Regions from separate parts of the Homo sapiens genome. Here regions 1 and 3 are each linked to region 2. Evidence: promoter capture Hi-C in 16 types of primary human blood cells and fetal thymus (Javierre and others, 2016). All regions are on one chromosome and are shown on one strand. The core of a region is centred on a gene start or on the middle of the fragment in contact, and the rest is flanking DNA. Distances in the headings are between cores, read along the strand shown. Region 1 overlaps GPC6 (glypican 6). Region 2 holds the start of GPC5 (glypican 5). Region 3 overlaps GPC6 (glypican 6).

The links. Contacts are between HindIII fragments. The CHiCAGO score rates a contact against its expected background, and 5 or more counts as called.
Region 1: a contact is called between a fragment that was not itself captured here and the fragment with the promoter of GPC5 in region 2, in 1 of 17 cell types (naive CD8 T cells). The highest score is 5.4, in naive CD8 T cells.
Region 3: a contact is called between a fragment that was not itself captured here and the fragment with the promoter of GPC5 in region 2, in 1 of 17 cell types (non-activated CD4 T cells). The highest score is 5.4, in non-activated CD4 T cells.

What each region holds. Positions count from the first base shown.
Region 1 is chr13:94,355,877-94,360,504 of GRCh38, reverse strand. The region is part of intron 6 of GPC6 (glypican 6); the gene reads right to left. Among named protein-coding and RNA genes, the nearest start is that of DCT, 120 kb to the left of the region's middle. The HindIII fragment of the contact is 8,212 bases long and covers 1-4,628 here.
Region 2 is chr13:91,396,251-91,400,713 of GRCh38, reverse strand. GPC5 (glypican 5) reads right to left here and starts at 2,093. Exons shown (of 8, transcript NM_004466.6): 1 at 1,505-2,093. The coding sequence starts at 1,667. LOC124903189 (a long non-coding RNA gene) reads right to left here and starts at 3,837. Exons shown (of 2, transcript XR_007063831.1): 1 at 3,553-3,837; 2 at 3,126-3,368. RefSeq lists silencers at 2,009-2,278, 1,985-2,279. The HindIII fragment of the contact is 9,875 bases long and covers 1-4,352 here.
Region 3 is chr13:94,327,744-94,332,568 of GRCh38, reverse strand. All of the region lies in intron 6 of GPC6 (glypican 6), which reads right to left. Among named protein-coding and RNA genes, the nearest start is that of GPC6-AS1, 140 kb to the right of the region's middle. The HindIII fragment of the contact is 750 bases long and covers 1,350-2,099 here.

The DNA of each region.
Region 1 (4,628 bases), core at 1,356-3,855, 3.0 Mb before region 2:
CCAAACAAATACAAGACTATACATTTTTCAAGATAACATTTTAAATCAGCCCATCTTCCTTTAGGAGGTCCAAAGACAGATGAATCAAATGCTATTTGCCCAATTATGCTTCTGGTTATGTATAACAGTGGATTATACTGTCCCTGAATCAATCAATCAATCAATCATCTATCATCGATCAGTCATCTATCATCTGTCTTAACTATCAGCGGAAATAATAATTTTCAGGTGGTGCTAAGAACATTCTAGATGCACAATACCATAAAACTTATGCCATTTCTCTAACAGGCAAGTGTGAAAAAATGAAAGTCCTAAAAACTCCTCCTGGCTTTAAAATGGAAAAAGAGTTCCCCTTCTGGATTTTTTATTCATAAAACAGCACAGACCAACTCCTCCCCTGGGTTTCCATGACAAAGGGAGAGTTTTCCCATAGGGCTGCATATGTAGGCTGGAAAGCCAGCCCTACATATTTAATGGTCTGTATCTAACAACATTGCATTAGAAATCCTCTCCTTGAGACTATTTCTCTTATGAAATGAAAAGTAGTAAAGAAAACAAAATTTTCACCACCCTGCCATAGGAACCCATGGGGACTTGAAAGGGCTTTGCATTTTCCTATTACATTGTACTTGGGAATAAGGTTGAGAAGCCAGACAGTAAATCTGATTCAACCAAATCCAAAGCGCTTGGAGGAATCACCTTTTTATTGCAGATAAGTATAAAAACAGTACTGGAAGCACACTGGAATCTGAAAGATCAAACGCCAGGGGCTTTCTGTTAATAGATTTGGTAGCTAAGCAGTGGTATTTAGAAAATAGCCTTTATCTCTTCAAAAAAAAAAAGGTCTCAGCAAAAGGAGCTCTGAATGTAAATAATTAGAATGATTTGTGTCAAGTTAGCCTCAATATTAGGTTGCTTTTCTATTACTTCTTTGACGAGCCTTATGTTTTATTCCTGATGCACTGGAAAGTCATAGTATAATGATCATGCTGGCATGTGAGGTTACACTGTGAGTCTTTCTGAACAGAATGGAACCCTAACCTCTCAATTTTTCCCCTAGATTAATAAATATAAAATTCACTGATATTATTTTTTGTATTTTTCTCATTAGAAGCTACTTCTGAATTTTTATACTATGCCATGGTGATCCATAAATGACAAATTCCAATATGCTTCATGCTCTTTATTATTCTTTTTAGTATAATTAAAGGAAAGTTAAACAGTCTTTTGAAAATAGTTTTCATTTTATTTCTTCAAATTATTTCCTATGTGGAAAACCGACCTTCTTTTTCAAGCCAAATCACAAATATTTAAAAAAGGCCTAGTGCATTTTCAATTTGCTTCTTTTGTCCTCAAAAAGGTAAGAGGGTTTCTCAATGTTTTTTCCAAAGATAACTGAAAGTGGGGTGTTATTTATCCAAGTGCCTAAATGAGATATACCAGTAAGTTCCCCTTCTCCATTATTTATATGGTCGAGAGGAAAGGACAAACTTCAGAGGAGCTAGAACTTTTGTCCAGAACTTGATTTTACTTTTTTTGGTCCAAAAAGGTGACTCCACAACAAGAAGAGACACTTAGAAATCTCTTTCGCTTGACATTTTAAAAACAGTTTTTTTCTGAAAACAAAGCCATTAGAACAGGCTTTCCTAAAACATGATGAAAAAGAGGATTTCAGGAAAAACATGCTGAGTATCCTAGAAAATCATGGAAACTCTGTAGTCATCTTTACAAGGAAAAGAGCTTTTCCCTGATCAAAAATGGTTAAGGCATAGGTGGTCCTGGGGTCACCATGCCAAGGTGTTCACACAATGTGCTCTCAGTACAGACACAGGTACTAGACCTGCAGTCTGGAGATTCGCACTCTTAACTTGTATCCCCAACTCATCCTGATACACGGGAAATCTGAAAACTCAGACCCATGGGGTTAAAGAGTAGACAGTGTGATCTCTCCAGGGCAAGCTCAACCCTGTGACTTCAACTTTGTTTTCTTTCTCTGAAAGGTCTTTTAATTTTCAGATTTAGTCTAGCTTTTTATATCCATCTTTTCACTTCTTCTAAGCCTATAGGTCAGGTTCTCATGACCAATGAATCTGATTGCAGTAATTAAAAAAAATCTGTCTTTATTTTCTTTACTTAGTTTTTTGAATATGTAGTACTGCTGCCATAACTTAATTCATGGTCCTTTTTCTTTTTTTCCTTTTTCTTTTTTTTTTTTTTTGACGGAGTCTTGCTCTGTCGCCTAGGCTGGAGTGCGGTGGCACTATCTCAGCTCACTGCAACCTCTGCTTCCGGGTTCAAGTGATTCTCCTGTCTCAGCCTCCTGAGTAGCTGGAACTACAGGTGCATGCCACCACACCAGGCTAATTTTTGTATTTTTAGTAGAGATGGGGTTTCACCATACTGGTCAGGCTGGTCTCGAACTCCTGATGTCAGGTAATTCACCCTCCTCGGCTTCCCAAAGTGCCATGGTCCTTTCTCTTAAAGACCAATGGCAATGGCTGTATCGCTGCATGTGTTCATGCATTCAGTCAACAAACATTCATTAAGGGTTTTCTCTGTGCAAGATACCGCATTAGGCATTGGGGCTACAAAGATGAAAAGACATCGGTTCTACTTTCAAGGAGCTTTCTCTTCTGTGGAGGTATAGACATAAAAACAGACAGTAGTACAACGTGATGTCAACATTGACAAGAACTGAGTTGAGAAGAATGAAAGCTGAGTGTAGAGTATGTATTTTCAAGAGCAGAAACCAGTGACCCAAAGTTAATTAAACTGAGATCAAATGGGAAAAGGTAAGGGCACTTACACCACAGTAAAGGGGATAGGGCATAACAGGTTAACTCAGGACCAGTGAAAATAGACACATGGTGGTGGTACCTTAGGGCTGTGACCACTTAATGAGAAAACCAATCAATTTCTAGGGAGGGTTCAAGGAGCGAGGGAGGCATTCTCAAGGCCTGGGTACCATCAGTTGGCCAAGAGTGCCGCAGAATTGTGTGTTCACGCTGTATCTTACAGGCGATGCATGCAGCTTCTGATGGATAAGTATTACCCGCGGAGCATCAGATGGTCCAGAGGTACAGAGTAGGGGTCCTGGGTCTGCCAAGTAGGGGCTCTAGGGAGAAGCTCCCACAGGGGTCTCTCTGTCTCTCTGAGCTGATCTTGAAGAGTGAGCTGGTGTTGGGGCTCCCAATCAGATGGAGCCCATGTTGAAAGGCTCATGTGGACCAAACCCACTAAGGGTTTGGAAAGTAGTTAGTTTGGTGCAACTGAAAGGCAAAGTGCATATGTTGGAGAGGCAGGAGTTGGGGCCAGAGAAGTGGGCCAGGAGATCCTACAGGGTTTTATAGTCTACTGTGAGCAGTTTAGTATTTTTTCTGGAGAATCATTGAAGGGTGCTAGAACAGCCCAGGTGGGGTCCAGAAGGATACACAGGTATGGCGCTGGGAAAGCCAGGTGGGGTGGGCAATGGTCCAGATTGATGACAGGGGACAGACGAGTGGTGTCTTGTTCACATCTATCAATCATGGATTCTTAACTGGCAACTCCATGACACATTTTCCATTTTAAATGCATTATTTCATTTTTACCTTTTCTTTTTTTGAGACAGGGTCTCACTCTGTTGTTCAGGCCAGAGTCCAGTGGTGCAATCCTAGCTCACTGCAGCTTTGAACTCCCGGGCTCAAACAACCCTCCCGCCTCAACCTTCCAAGTAGCTTGGATTACAGATGCATGCCACCATGCCCAGCTACATTTTTCATTTTAATTAGGCTCTACTTCTCACAGAGCCCTATTTCCCTTTCCACGTGCTCCCTGCCAGCTCAAGCCTTTGCTTATGTTACTTGCCAGAAGTAACTTCCTTCACCAGGAGTGATGGCTCTTCTCTTAGCCTATCCACAGCTGCTTCATCCTTTCAGGCAGATCATGCAGATAAAGTAAATTAGAGAAGCGAGCTGAGTTTGTTTGTTCATTCATCAAACATCTACTCTTTTTCAGGTACTCTCCTAGGTACCAGGGATGAAGTAGTGAACAAAAGAGGGCAAAAACCCCTTCCTTTATGGAGCCTACATTTGCATTACAAGATTCCAACAACAAATGAAATAAACCAGTAAAATATATAGCATTGTGGAAGAGAGTGTGGTGATTCCTCAAAGACCTAGAACCAGAAATGCCATTTGACTCAGCAATCCCATTACTGGGTATACACCCAAAGGAATATAAATCATCCGGTTATAAAGACACATGCACGCGTATGTTCATTACAGCACTATTTACAATAGCAAAGACATGGAATCAACCTAAATGCCCATCAAGGATAGACTGGATAAAGAAAATATGGTACATGTACAGCATGGAATACTATGCAGCCAGACAAAGGAACAAGATCATGTCCTTTGCAGGGACATGGATGGAGCTGCAGGGACATGTCCTTTGCAGGGACATGGATGGAGCTAACACAGGAACAGAAAACCAAACAGCATTTTCTCACTTATAAGTGGGAGCTGAACAATAAAAATACATGGACACATGGAGGGGAACAATACACACTGGGGCCTGTTGTGGGGGCAGGGGGAGGGAGAGCATCAGGATAAATAGCTAATGCATGCGGGGTTTAATACCTAGGTGAT
Region 2 (4,463 bases), core at 844-3,343:
GAGAAGGGGCTGGCCATCAACATTCGGTGAACATAGCAGGCAAAGTTACCATATTTGGGGACTAAAAATCTAATAATTCAGGTAAAGATCTCACATCATAACACCCTCACCACCCACACGCACAAACTCACTTTAGTTTTATCAGCAGCCAATAAAGTGAGATTTATTTCCTAATGAAAAGAATGCACTAAGAAAAATACAGATCTATAAGGCGATATTTTATTTGGGGATAGAAGAATCGCCCTAAACTGAGAATGTCAACTTTGTTTCAAGTAATACAGAAAAAGCACCTAGTACCAAACAGGTATACAAAGAAATAGCTGGGTTTAAGACTGGTCATGTAAACTCAAATGGAGTCAGTGTTCCCGAATGCCTAGATTTTCTTTCTGGGATGACTTAAAATTGAGCAAAGCAATCAAGAAAAGCGGCTACAGCTCACACTTCCTCATTGCTACAAGCAAGTCCCCCAACCCTGGAAACTCGGGACTTTAGACTTAAGCGTCCTCCACAAGTTCTTTGTTCAACCAGTAACCTCACAGATTCGTCTGTGTTGGCTTCATAGTCACAGCTAAAGGGGTGCATGGCTCTAGTGAGATCTTACTTAGCTCTAGACACCTGCTATTGCGTTTGACAGCTATGACCTATTCTTCCAGACAGAACCTACACTGGAACTCCCACCAGCAGAAGGAAATTGGTGCGGTGGAAACGGGGAGCAGGGTTCGAAAGCACAGGCAAAAGGCGCTCACAGGAAGCAAGATCCACGCTGGCCACACAAACTGTATCTTTCCCTTTGGAACGCTGGTACATCTCATCCATGTCAAGTGACTCCCCAGTACGTTCGGTTTGATCGCCTGTTGCCCTAACACTTTTCAGGCTAAAAACTACCTTGGTGCTGGGAGACACACTGGGTGGTTGGGTTTCCTCCAAGCAGGGCTTGATACGAGGGCACAGAAGGGCAGCTAAGGGTCACGTCTCTGGGTGCACAGGGTCCAAGTCCTAATTACAGAGGAGACCGGCTGCCCTTGTCTGTGCCCCATTCTCCAGCAAAGGGGTATATCGCAGGTTTGTGATTTTTAGTACCAAACTTGGGGCGATCAATTCAATTCCCTCCACCTTATGAGAAAGCAGTAAACCGAAATCCCCGGTGGGGCACTGGGGAAATTCCTACTCGGAAGAGAAACGGAGTTAGACTGCGTGTCCCCCACGCCCTGATGTCTGCTTTCCTGGTTCCTTCCAACTCATCCTCCAAGACGAAGGGAGCCGGGCGGGAAGCAGATGCCCAGAACGGGGATTCGTCGCAGGCTTGGTTAGGGGTCCCCAGAGCTGCGCTGCGCTGCACTCAGGCTACCCGCACCAAGCATCCCCGGAAGCCTCCCCGGGATTCACCCTGCGCGGCTGCAGGGCCCGAAAGGTCATCTTCCCACGAGTGCCACCAAGGGAGCCTGGGGGAGCGAAGGCCGGGCTCGGACGCCGCCAGTCCAGAGACCCCCTCATTGCCCCTTACCTGCCCGCGGCGAATCCGGCAGCCCCCTGACAGCTCCCAGCAGCCGCCACTGGAAAAGTTTCCGAACTTCTTCGCAGGTCTGCACGCCCTCGCTGCGGGCGGACCCAACCAGGGCCAGAAGGAGGAGGCAGCGAAAGCCCACGGGCCAGGTCTGTGCGTCCATCCTCGCCGTCCTGGTCCCCTTTACCCGCCAGTGGACCCCACTCGCCCTGCGCGCCCTGGCTGAGCTGCAGACGTGGAAGACACAGCGGCCGAGGCTCTCGAGCGGTGCGAGCCGGCTGCGGGGTGTACGGACCGCCCGCGGGCACCGGCTTCACCTGGGAGCAGTTAGCTCTTCCCGGAGGAGGCCCTAAGCTGAGACACCAGAGTTTTCCAGCTGAGCACCCTCTGGTCTTCTTCCCTAGCCGAGAAGAGTGGGCGGCTGGGCGGGGCGAAGAAAACTAGTGGAGCCGCAGGGAGCCCGCAAGCATCCGCTCTGGCCACCACTGCTGCAACTGCTGCCGCTGCCGCCACTGCCGCCACTGCCGCCACTGCCGCCGCCGCCGCCGCCTCCGCCGCCCGGCTCGGCTCGCAGCAGCTAACCTGGGATGTGCCCGCTCGCTGCGCTCCGCGGAAGCCCCGCCCCGCACTCCCCGCCCCGCGGACAGGCCACGCCCCTGCCACGCCCCCGGCGCGCTGTCCCGCTCCGCACCCACTAAGATGCTGTCATACGCGGCCCAGTGCTGAAGACTCGGAGCGACATCGATGCAAATAAATAGAAGGAAACCCGGACCTCGCTCTCCCAGTCCGTTCTGGGGAAGAATCATCTGATAAAAACAGAGAATGTATAAATAGGGTCAGAGAAGACAAGAGATGAGAAACACCAACTGGAACTAAGAAATATCTCATCTATGTAATCAAGGTCCTCAGTACATAGGAATTTGTATTCTAATTGCATTAAATAGGATCTGGACATAATACAAAAGGCAAAAACTATTTACGGTTAAAGATCTCAATTGAGAGACTTCATAACACTTAGGTTGTTAAAGAGTGCACATGAGAAGTTATTTTTTAAAATGGCTTTGTTTTACTGCTTAGGAACATTTTTCTATAACATGATTTTCTGAAAGGAGGTATAAGAATTACAATCAAACTTTATCACATTCTTATCACAATGAAATCTAGTTTTAAGTCTCTTATCACCATTTAGCATCATATTTTACTTCAGCACTTTGTATTTGTGGGGCTCCTCTGAGCTTTACCACTTCTGGAATTTCTTTAAAATATTTTTCAGAGAGCAATTAAGTTAAGAGTGCTCAGGGGAGTTCCTTACAAGGAATATAGAAAAATAAATACTTTAAGCAATTTTAAAATGGCAAAGGAATTTTGTCAATTTACAGTTTATGAGAGGAATGCATTACGCACCATAAACCAAAGGGCAGGTGCATTTTTTAAATGTGGTTGACTCAACAACTAAGCCTGTAAGAGTGTCTCAATCTACAGCCACTTGAAGAGAGTACTCCTTCTGTAAAATAAACTAGTTAAAAGCATCAGGCAGAGGGGACAATGAATGCTTTAACCACTTTAAGGAATTTCATCTCAAATTTGAACCCTTACCAAGAGATAGTAGTGAAAAACTTTATGTCTTAGTGAAGATTTTTAATGAACATTTAATATCAAAGGCAGCACTTTCAGCAGTATATCACTTGCTTTAAAACCATTCCAGGGCAATGGCTGAAACACTGCTTCAGAGTGAAATCATGCTACTTGGTGTTTGGCATCAGTTTTCTGAATATGAGATTTTGTTTCAAAGGGCAGTGCTCTTCATGAATCTCTTCTGCTCTAACCACCAAGTATGGAAAGATTGTCTGGAAGCCACCTATATCTATGAAAAGAAACAAGAAAAACCATGAGAATGTATATAGTGCTTATGGGCCAGATAATATTCTAAGTATTTTATGGAAATGAATTCACTCATGTAATCTTTATAACAACCTTATAAAGTAGTTACTACTATTATCATTGTTTTACAGATGAGGAAACAGGAACACAGAGGTGAAGTGACTTACTGAATGCCTAAGGTAAGTGACAAAGCCAGAAATCAAACTGAGGCTTCCAAATCCAGACCGCATGCTCTTCTCCAGAGGCTCTCCTTGACTATTCTGTGGTACAGAAAAACCCATCAGGTTTCACCAAAGGCCTTTGGGCAGCAACACCAAGGGCTGTTTATTCATTTAGCAGATTTTTTACTAGTAAATATGCATAATTTCTATCTATATAACTGTATTCTACTGGAATTATGTGTATCTCTATATAAGGCTAATAAATTCCCAAGTTTTTCTAAAACATCTTTATTGTTACCAAGATCTCTCCTTGATAGATTTGATCATCTTAGACTCTTAGCATCAAAAAGATCCTTAAATTACCATCTATCCCATTAACTGGAATCTCTAAAACGGTGTGTCTTGCAAGGATAAAAATCATAAACACAACTGAGTATTGATGGTTCAGTAAAAGCTAATTGACTAATACATATTGGTTGAAAACATACAATTTTTTTAACCGCTATTCTAGGCTTAACAGGAGTTTAAAGAGACACACAAGCAAGTTTTCTCAGTGATTTTATAAGTTAACAAAACAGGTGGGAGGTCATTTATAGAAATGCCATAGGAACTAACAAGAATATATTTAGTCTGTATAAAATATCCCCATTAACAAAAAATAAATATATTTTCCTTCTACCTCTTATCCATAACTGCTAGCAAAGTGGATGAGCCAGCATGTGGCCTGGAAGGGCATCTTGTCCTATTAGCATCCCTAAGCCCACCACGCAAGGCAACAGTATGCCTGCTACTGAAGCTACCAAGCTTCAAGACAAGTTTTCTAGTTCCACCCAGAACACAATGCCACGATCCCTTTTATAAGAACATTCTAGAGCAACCTCTGCAAATTATACCATAACTAGCCTTTTATTCAATTT
Region 3 (4,825 bases), core at 475-2,974, 2.9 Mb before region 2:
CAACGGCTGAGCCAGCCCCACACCAGAGAGAATAAACTGGCAACAAAAACTATGTACAGAGACATTAGGCAAAGACTTCGCATTTTCCATTTTGATAAAAACTTGCAAAATGGAACAGCAAGAATATAATTTGAGCAATCCGTCAGACCCAAGACTGCTAGTATCTTTCTTTTGTTCTTTTATTCCCCCTACTTGGAACTTTCACAATTTATCACATTGCAGATCTAGGAGCACCATTTGAATAAGATTAGGTGATGGCTAATTACTACAGTTCAGCTGAATCCAGCTGCCATCCATGGGCCTTGTTAAAGCCCCCAGTGACCAACTTCTTGGCCTCATAAGCACTTATTGGAAGAAACCAAAGCCAAAAAAGGATGAGAAAAGGGGCCCAAAAGAATTATAAAAGAAAAAATTAAATTTTTGAATATCGGGTAATAGTCAAAGGAATGTCCAGTTTCTAGAACCTGTTCGGGGAGATTCTTCCAGCCTGCTCTTATCCACCTCTCCCTTCTTTAATTCCTGTTGCACAAAGCATTACTGCCTCATAGTTTGCAATGACTGAGACTCAGATGGAGAACAGAAATAAAATCTTACATGACTTTAGATTTCTCCATCGCTTATTGACGAGAAGAAAAAAAGAGAGAGAAGAGCACATGTTTTTAGTTGACGAACTCTTTGATATAATCCAAAATTGGCTTAATATCTATATTCCAATGCTTAAAACTTTCCCTGAGGAAGAAATCTCTTGCTTGAAAAAGACTGGTACCCAAATTAATTCACCTTTTACTTTTCCTAAGTAGTGATCCTTGCTTTCCATCTTGCCTAAAAATCTTTGTATTCCCAGGTTTAACTCAGAATTTTCATACTAGGATCCTTTCTCATACTATTTGGAAATGCATGAATTTATGAAGGGTCCATTTTAGGTGGACACTCAAGCAATACTTCCAACAACTTGACAGACAAATGCTGCTGTCCGTGGACAAGGATGAACCTCTCTTTGTTCTTATTTGTGGCTACAATGCAGATAGATCAGTTCTGGGCCCTCTGCCTGACTCCATGTAACCACACAGCTGCTTAAAATCTGCTTGGGATTAGGGGTGTACACTGGGCTATGGAACCAACTAAAAATATGGGCCCAGATGGTCAGCAATCACTCAACCCTGGCCTCATTTAGGGGTTGCTGTAAATCAGGGACGGGCAAACTTCCTCTCTGAAAGGATAGGTAGTATTATTTTAGGCTTTGCAGACCATAGGGTCTCTATCGAGATGACTAAGTGCTGCTATTGTACTGTCAGTACAGCATTAGACAATATCTAAATGAATGAGCAGGGCTGTGTTCCAATAAAGCTTTATTTATTAAAATAGGTGGCTCGGCCCGTAGGTCATAGTTTGCTGATTGCTGCAAAGAAACTTGTCTGACTAGCTGACCCCAACTCTGGTTTACCTATTGTACTAGTCCCCATCCTAAAAATCACTGCATACAGTTTCTTAAATCTGCCAGTTAGAGTTGATGTAGCACCCTCCAAATCAATCTAAAATGTGATAGAAAAAGGAGGCAAATTTTTTTATTAAATATTTGGAGGGAGGCCCAATTTCTGAGATCAGAGGAAGATACTAAACTCGTAGAACAGTCTTATATGGTTATATCAATGTAACAATCAGCCTCTTAAGAAAACCACATAAAAGGACAGCAATCAACCCAACAAACCCACTAGATCTCGTATCCAGAGCTTTTTGAAATAGGCTAAGGTCTCAAGAGATATATAGGTGAATATGCAGTTTCTCCTCTGTACCTTTTTGAGATTACACAGGGAAAAACATGGAGCACAGAGCTCATTGCATATTGACTATTATCATCCACCTTTAACAGACAAGGATTTGAGCTGTGCTTCTCTTAGCATGATGTACCTACGAATCACCTGGGATCTTGTTGAAATGCAGGTTCTGATGCTGCAGGCCTGGGGTAGGACCTGTGATTCTTCATTTTTTTAACAGGTGATACTGATGCTGCCAGTTTAGGAATCACATTTTGATAAACAAGGACTTGGGGAAGTGGCTAGCAACCTTGGCTGCACCCCAAGGACATGCTTTAGGAAGCTTTCCAAATACAGATGCTGGGTCAGTCCCAAGCCAAACAGATCAACATCTCTAAATACGAGGCCCAGGCATCAGTATTTAATGTTTCCCAGGTAATTTTCATGTACAGTCAAGACTGAGAGTTCCTGAGTTAGAGGCTCAGAGAAATTAACTGACTCGCCCAAGGTCACTTGGCCAGTGGCCAAACAGACTTTAAACGGTAAAAATTTTGCTGGCCCCAGGATCTTTGAAAATGATCCTAAAAATTATTACTAGGCAGGCATAACATAGGCAAGGGTTGCATCGTTTCCATAAGAATTGCTAATGTGAGAGAGAGAAGAAGAGGAAAGGTGGGATTAAACTTATGCAGGGAGTTATCAGTCCTGATCGAGGGAACACAGAGAAAGCAGGCAGCACAGTTGCTCTGTTCCAGTGTGAAATTCCCTTTCAAGGATCACTATTTCTTCATGAAAGCAACATGGTAGGAGCCTCTCAGAAGGCATATTCAAGTTCAGCAATGCGCAGTACCTTCAGCTCCTTTGATGAATCACTACATGATGAAACTTTAGAGGCTGAGTAATCACATTTGGCTTCGTTTCTGCCTCTTGGGAGGTTCAAAAAGTCATGTTTATGGGAAAGGGTAAAATTTCTGACCCAGGGATTTTTTTTTTGTCCCAAATAGGACCAAGGTAAGAGAAGAGGAGGAGGAGGAGTAGGAGGAAGGAGGAGGAGGAAGAGGAGGAGGAGAAGTAAAGCAATATTGGGAAATTATCAGACAACCCAAGATTTTCTGAATCTCCTAAACCCATTCAATCCCATGTTGTGAATGGAGGTCCATTTTCATCTGGAAAAACATGAATTTCAATTACATTTACACAATTGTTCAACCACAGTTTTCAAGATCAGATGCATTTTCTCACTGTCTGCAGATCCTGTGGAGAATAAACCTCCCCCCTGGGATGAAGACCTTGGCTGTGTAATTTGGGACATGCTACCTCAAAGGGAAAATGAAAGCGTGATTCTCTTCTGAGGGAGGAATTGGACATCTCCCAGACTAAGCAAATGGCAGCTGCAGACGGTACTGCGAGGCACAGATCTGCTGCTGGGAACGACATCCTTCGAGGTGGAAGATGTGAGGGGCCCAGGGTGCGGTGGGCCCTGGGAACACTGTGAACTCATGTGAAAATTCCTAACGTTGAACATGCAGGGAGAACCCAGCGTTTTGCCAAATGTTTTCAGGAGCTTAAATTTTAAGCATCATTTTCCTGCACTTCTGTTCTTTTTGGATATTCTTGAGGACATTTTAGTTTCTTTATTTTGTCCCTCTCTGGCTCCATTTTGGGCAAGAAAGAAATACAAATCTTACTCTAAAAGATACTAACCAGCTCTTTCAAAAGGGAAATAAAGCTGAGAACTCCAGTGTCAGTGGGAAGTATCTCACCAACTCCATTTCAGCCCCCCCCGGGGTTCTTCCTCAGGAGCTCCAGAGTTGATGGGGACCCATTGGTCAATGTTCAGAGGGGTCACAGCAAACACATTTCACACTCACACAGAAGCTTACAGTCCTGTCGCTCAAAGGGACTGCAGGGCCTCTGCAGTTCACCCCTGGTTTTAACGATGAGCAAACGAAGGCTTGGTGATGGGCAGTGACCTGTCGAAGGTCACATAGTGATGCAGGGGCTCCCCAGCCAGCATCTCCTCCCACAGCAGGCTGCCCACTTCCCCAGCGGACGTGGAGCAACAGACTGGAATGAGCCCCCTTTCCTTTCCCTGAAATACTCAGTGCAGTGACTAACATAAGGTTCAGAAATATTATTTGTTTGTTTATAATTTATATACAATTGCTTCCTAGAAAGACTTGCAGGAGGCAGGGCCATGCTGCTGGCTGTGGATGGGGTCTCTCTTCACGTCTGCTCCTGACAAACACAGAGCAGTGATGTCAGACGGCAGCTGCCATGAGTGAGACCAACGACAGGACAGCGACAGAACAGCCAGAAAGCAAAGCTTTGTTCCAGCATCCCCAGGAAGTCTTCGTGTGGCTTTTCCCTCTCTCCACTGGAAACCTCACTTTAGGGTGAATCCTTCCATGTAGGAGCCACGAAGTCATTTTACATGTCTAATTAAGAGTAGTCATTCTTCCAAGAAACATGCATTGAACACATTGGCATCGGGCATGGAAAGATGGAAAAGGTAGGTTCTCAAAGCAGTAGCAGTCCACTTAGCATGTGAGGTGGTATCTATCAGGATCACAGGCGAACTTGTTAAAAATACAGATTTGCTGTCCCCTGTACCCCACTGGCTGACTTAGTGTGGCCCTGGGTTGGCCCTTGGGAATCAGTATTTTAATAAGTTTCTCATGTAAATGATCCGAGTCCCACATATTCCGAATGCTGGTCTAATGTGCAGAGGAATCCTTTGAGACAACAGCCACAGATCCTTCTCTACTGTTGGCTTTGTAGGCGATCTCCAGGAAGCAGGAAAGATCACCCTTTCCTATTTTTTCTCCCAACAAAATCGGAGGGGAAGGGGGAGGAAGCATGCTTGGATGAAGAAGGCAGGTTTACCATCTCCAGGTGTGCAATGTGGCCCTGTTTCCTCTCCTAGAAAATCTCTCAGCTAAACTCCTGCCCTAAGAAAAGGAGGCACTGAAGCTGTTTAAGGAAAGAGAAAACTAGGTGAAACTCTTTGCACTTAGATTCCATTTTATAAGGGGCAGTGATTTTTTTTACTGGGTATCACACTTCCTGTT